Linked DNA regions of Homo sapiens: region 1 is linked to region 2. Evidence: promoter capture Hi-C in human tissues and cell types (Jung and others, 2019). All regions are on one chromosome and are shown on one strand. Each heading gives the region's core, a stretch centred on a gene start or on the middle of the fragment in contact. The rest is flanking DNA. Distances are from core to core; before and after follow the strand shown.

The links. The method cuts DNA at HindIII sites, captures the fragments that hold promoters and counts their contacts. A contact is called where the count stands out against the background at its distance.
Region 1: a contact is called between a fragment that was not itself captured here and the fragment with the promoter of TMEM106C in region 2, in 1 of the 25 tissues and cell types used here (H1 embryonic stem cells).

Annotation. Positions count from the first base shown.
Region 1 is chr12:48,097,043-48,099,742 of GRCh38, forward strand. It overlaps SENP1 (SUMO specific peptidase 1), which reads right to left. Exons shown (of 18, transcript NM_001267594.2): 3 at 952-1,082. Among named protein-coding and RNA genes, the nearest start is that of SENP1, 7.7 kb to the right of the region's middle. The HindIII fragment of the contact is 5,221 bases long and covers 1-2,700 here.
Region 2 is chr12:47,962,213-47,964,912 of GRCh38, forward strand. TMEM106C (transmembrane protein 106C) reads left to right here and starts at 1,384. Exons shown (of 8, transcript NM_001143842.2): 1 at 1,384-1,492; 2 at 1,997-2,211. The coding sequence starts at 2,025. The HindIII fragment of the contact is 8,708 bases long and covers 1-2,700 here.

The DNA of each region.
Region 1 (2,700 bases), core at 192-2,691, 130 kb after region 2:
ATAGACAATCTAATGAAATAATTCAGGCTTCAAGGAAAAAAACAGGCAAAATATTTGTTATACAATTTAATTCAAAGAATGTTCACTAGAAGGTAAATATGTATTTAGTACATCCTGTCTGAAAGCCATTTATAACACATATTAAAAAGGTTGAGAAAAATCAATCTGGTTTTGGTTCTTTTGATAACTTTACAGAGATAGCTCTTAATCAGAGGTGGTGCTATACCCTGAGTACATATCTGGAAATGTGTGGATATATATTAACTATTAAAATGATTATGGGGGGAGGTGGATGTTACAGGAATTTAGTGCCTAGGGCTCATGGATGCTAAACATCCTACTATAATTAGGAAAGATTCACACATCAAAGAATGATCTCATCCAAATTACTAATGGCTTTCCTATTGAAAAAGACTGCTTAATAGTGCTCCCCACACTTTCATGTGCATATAAATCAAATGAGGATGTTTTTAAAATATAAATTCTGATTCAGTGATATGAGGTAAAGCCTGAGAGTCTGCATTTCTATCAAGCTCCCAAGTAATGTTGATGCTGCTGGTCCCGAACTAGACCTTGAGAAATCAGGCATTATAGCACAGACATCTTAGAGCTGCTGTATATTTTCACATTTCTCCCCCATTTAATGCTCAGCAATTTTAGGTGCTAGTTTAAAAGAACACTGATCTGCATATAAGTAATTTTAAAATTCAGAGGAACAATGAGTTTTCTAAAACGTACTGTTCTCAAAGAACTCATACATAGCCTATTTTGTCTTAACGTCCTTGTCTTAATTTTAATATATAGAGCAGAATTCCAAACACTAAAATTACTGATTCTAAAAAGTTTATAGCTATGCTTGTATTTTTGAGTGTGGCATTTAAACTACATAAGATGAAAACTTATGATGAGCCCAAATAATTAATTAATTAAAGGAAGAAAATTGCTCCTAACCTGCTGGTCAGAAAGCGAAAGCTGGTCCTCTGGAAAACCTGTTTGTGGCAGGAGGTGGGTTTTGAATACGGAGTTGTGGTTCACTAAAGTCACTTCTCCAGCATCCATCCTCATCCTATCAGCAATATCATCTGGGGAGACAGTCTGGATTAGTTCAAGTCACATAATTCTTCAATAACGTTTTTCCTATGAACCAATCTTTTCACCTAATAAAAACAATTCCCACCCAGGCATGGTGTCTCATGCCTGTAATCCCAGCACTCTGAGAGGCTGAGGCAGGAGGATTTTTTTGAGGCCAAAAGTTCAAGATCTATCTAGGCAACATAGTAAGACCCTGTCTCTACAAAAAAATTTAAAAATTAGCCAGCAGGTCAGGTGTGGTGGCTCACACCTGTAATCCCAGCACTTTGGGAGGTTGAGGCGGGTGGATCACGGGGTCAGGAGTTCAAGACCAGCCTGGCCAACATGGTGAAACCCTGTCTCTACCAGAAATACAAAAATTAGCCAGGCATGGTGGCGGGTACCTGTAATCCCAGCTACTCGGGAGGCTGAGGCAGGAGAATTGCTTGACCCTGGGAGGCAGAGGTTGCAGTGGGCCAAGATCGTGCCACTGCACTCCAGCCTGGGCAACAAGAGCAAAACTCCATCTCAAAAAAAAAAAAAAAAAGTTAGCCAGCCAATGTGGCACGTGTCTGTAGCCTCAACCACTTGGGAAGCTGAGGCAGGAGGACTGTTTTGAGCCCATGAGTTCAAATTTACAGTGAGCTATCATCACACCACTGCACTCCAGCCTGGGGGACAGAGGGAGACCCTATGTCTAACAATAATAATAAAAAAAGACAAAAAAGAACTTGAAGAACAACTCTGCAATAAAATAAAATCCCTCTTTCATAGCTAACCAATGGCAAAAATCTCATATTGTCATTGTCAAAAGAGGTCCATGTGCAGAAATTGGCTCATTTGGAATTAATTGAGGCCATCTACCAAACAGTTCAAAACTTGTACACATATAAAAACAGCTTAATTTAAAGCTTTAAAAATAACGAGACCAGGCAAGGTGGCTCACACCTGTAATACTAGCACTTTGGGAGGCTGAGGCAGACGAATGGCTTGAGCCCAGGAGTTCGAGACCAGCCTGGGAAATAAGGCAAAATCTTGTCTCTATTAAAAAACAAAACAAAACATTAGCCAGACATGGTGGTGCATGCCTGTAGTCCCAGCTACTCAGGAGGCCGACCTGGAAGGATACTCTGAGCCCGGGGAGGTCAAGGCTGCAGTGAGCCATGACAGAGTCACTGCACTCCAGCCTGGGTGACAGAGTGAGACCCTGTCTCAGAAAACAACAACAACAACAACAAAGAAAAACACAAACAAAAAACAAAAATGCTCCCAAAAGAAACTTTTTAAATATTTTAACTATAGAAAAAATTTTAAATATAAAAAAATTGGGGGAAAAAATTCACCATTCAGTAACACACACTGTTAACACTGGTTCATTTCCTGTTTTAACACAAAGAAGTGCTTTAAGAAGTAATCCACCTGCCAGGTGTGGTGGCTCACACCTGTAATCCCAGCACTCTGGGAGGCTGAGGTGGGCGGATCACTTACTTGAGGCCAGGAGTTTGAGACCAGCCTGGCTAACATGGCAAAACCCCATCTCTACTAAAAATACACCAGGCATAGTGGCACATGCCTGTAATCCTAGCTACTTGGAGGCTGAAGCATGAGAATCGCTTGAACCCAAGGCAG
Region 2 (2,700 bases), core at 134-2,633:
AACGAACGAAAAGTGCTTTCTAACCTCTTACGTACGTGCCTTTTTTGTGGAGGTCTGGGGAAGGGGGGGCCCTACTACCGAATGAATCTACTCCTTGGTGCCTCTTGGCACCTAATTGGCTTGCAAAGCTCAGCTGTGGGGTCCGTTCCTGCGAGAAGCCAGCAGGACTCCCCATGGAAGGTTTCCCCCAGGCTGGGCCCCTCTGACTTGTGAGACTTCCAGCAGCACTTTTATCTACAGTATTGGAGGGGTCTGATGAAGCCTCTGGGTTCCCCTCCTGGACTGAAGACAGGTTCTGATATAATTGCCGGACGGGTTCTCCTTGCCCGTTGCCCAGAGCTGATTCATCAAGACAGGGGAATTGCAATGGAGATTTTAATTCATGCAGAGCCGGCTGAATGAGATACCAGAGTTTTATCACTCAAATAAGTCTCCCCGATAATTCAGAGACTGGGGTTTTTTAAGGATAATTCGGCTGGTAGGTATCAGGCAGTGGGGAGTGCTGATTGGTCAGGTTGGAGATGAAATCATAGGGGGGTCTAAGTGGGTTCTTCTTGCTGTTTTCTGTTCCTGGGTGGGATTGCAGAACTGGCTGAGCCAGATAACTGGTCTAGGTACTGCCAGCTGGTGCCTCAGAATGCAGGGTCTGAAAAATATCCCCAGCACCGATCTTAGATTTTACAATAGTGATGTTATCCCTTGGAGCAATAGGGAAGGTTTGGAATCTTGTGACCTCTGTCTGGATGACTCCTAAACCATAATTTCTAATCTTGTGGCTAATTTGTTAGTCTTACAAAGGCAGTCTGGTCCCCAGGCAAGAAGGGGGTTTGTTTTGGGGAAGGGCTGTTATCTTTGCTTCGAAGTTCAACTATAAACTAAATTCCTCCCAAAGTTAGTTTGGCCTATACCCAGGAATGAACAAGGGCAGTTCGGAGGTTAGAAGCAAGACGGAACTGGGTAAGTCAGATCTCTTTCACTGTCATAATTTTCTCACTTACAATTTTTGCAAAGGCAGTTTATCCGAATGCTCCGCATGTGTGTACCCTCAGCGACTACACAGCTCCTGTACTATAAAGAATATTTCAGAATGGCTTCGGTAGCCGGCAGCACCTTCCTCCTCTCGCAGCAGAGAAGTGTTTTGCTCTGGAAACTTGACTGGAGCCTTTCCCAGCCTATCTAGCGAACAGCAGAGCATCATCCCGACTCCGCGGACTACCGCGGCCCAACAGCAAGGGTCGCGGCTCCCCGGCGCTCTCTGCCGCCCTCTACCGGAACCGAGGGAGCCAGACAGCTGCGATATTGGGAAGGCCTCCGGAGCCGCGAAGAGCGCACGCGCGAGCGCGCGCCCGCGTTCTCCTGGCGGGCTTGGTATTTGGCGCCTGCGCGCTGAGTGCGTGCCGCTCCGCCGACCGAAGAGGCTGGTAAGTCCTCAAGCTGGCAGGTGGTCGGGGGAGCGGCCGGAGAGGAGCTGCCGGGAGTTCGTGCCCTGCAGGTCTGCGACGCTGGCGTTCGCTCCTGCCTGGGCCACTTTGGTGGGCTCAGAGCATCGCTTTTTGCCAAGGGGCGTGACCTGAGCCCGCCTCCTGGGGCTGGGGGGTGGAGAGGAATGGGAATCGTTAAGGCCGGTTATCAATTTGGTGCCTGTTTGTTGCTCGAGGAGGGGCATAGAGCTTACAAATAGTGAAGAGGAAGGGGCGAGGCTGGACCAGGTGGGAGCGGGGGTGCCCCAAGTCCCAGGGCGGTGAGGATCGAGGCAGGTGCGTGAAAGGCAGGCCCCGTTCCCCCTCCCCACCCCCGCCGGCTGTGTGTGGCGGGTAAGAGGAGAGTGGGTAGCACTACTACAAAATGAGGGTCCCGATAGAAATCGTACAGGTGTTGGGACCACACTCAGGGCGGCAACTTGTCATTTTTGCGTTTTTAATTTTCTTATAGAAACAAGCGATTTCTGTCGTGATTCACTGGGGCCGCTAACGTGCACTCCCTCTTTTCATCTTAGGACATGACACCAGTGGCATATCACGGCCATGGGGTCTCAGCATTCCGCTGCTGCTCGCCCCTCCTCCTGCAGGCGAAAGCAAGAAGATGACAGGGACGGTTTGCTGGCTGAACGAGAGCAGGAAGAAGCCATTGCTCAGTTCCCATATGTGGAATTCACCGGGAGAGATAGCATCACCTGTCTCACGTGCCAGGGGACAGGCTACATTCCAACAGGTGATCATGGAGGGATGATTCCCTGATGAGAATCCCAAGGTACCCTCGGAGTTCTCCTGTCTGCCCAGACAACTTTTCTTCTAGGCAGTAATACCATAATAGAGACAGTGCCCTGGACAGGAGCCAGCTCAACTGACTTAATACACTTGGGCAGTTCTGCAACTTCTCTTCCTCTCCTTATTTTTCCAACCCTTTCTTTTCTTTACCGCCACTCTTGTTCTTTTCCTGAGGTTTGGAACATTCAGTTCGCTCTGTGTTGTGGGATTTGTTGACAGGCACATTTCTTTATCGCTGTCACAAGGATTGGGACAGCTTTGCGGGGGAACCATCTTGGAAGCTGCTTTTCAAGGAAATGGGTAGCTAATCCTTAACAGCCTAAGGTCAGAAAAATATATCAGGTCAAGAGAGAGAGACAAATACTTAGCCTTGGTACAGGATCATCTATTACTATTAACAAATTGGCCCTCAGAAAGTCTTTAACAGTTTAGC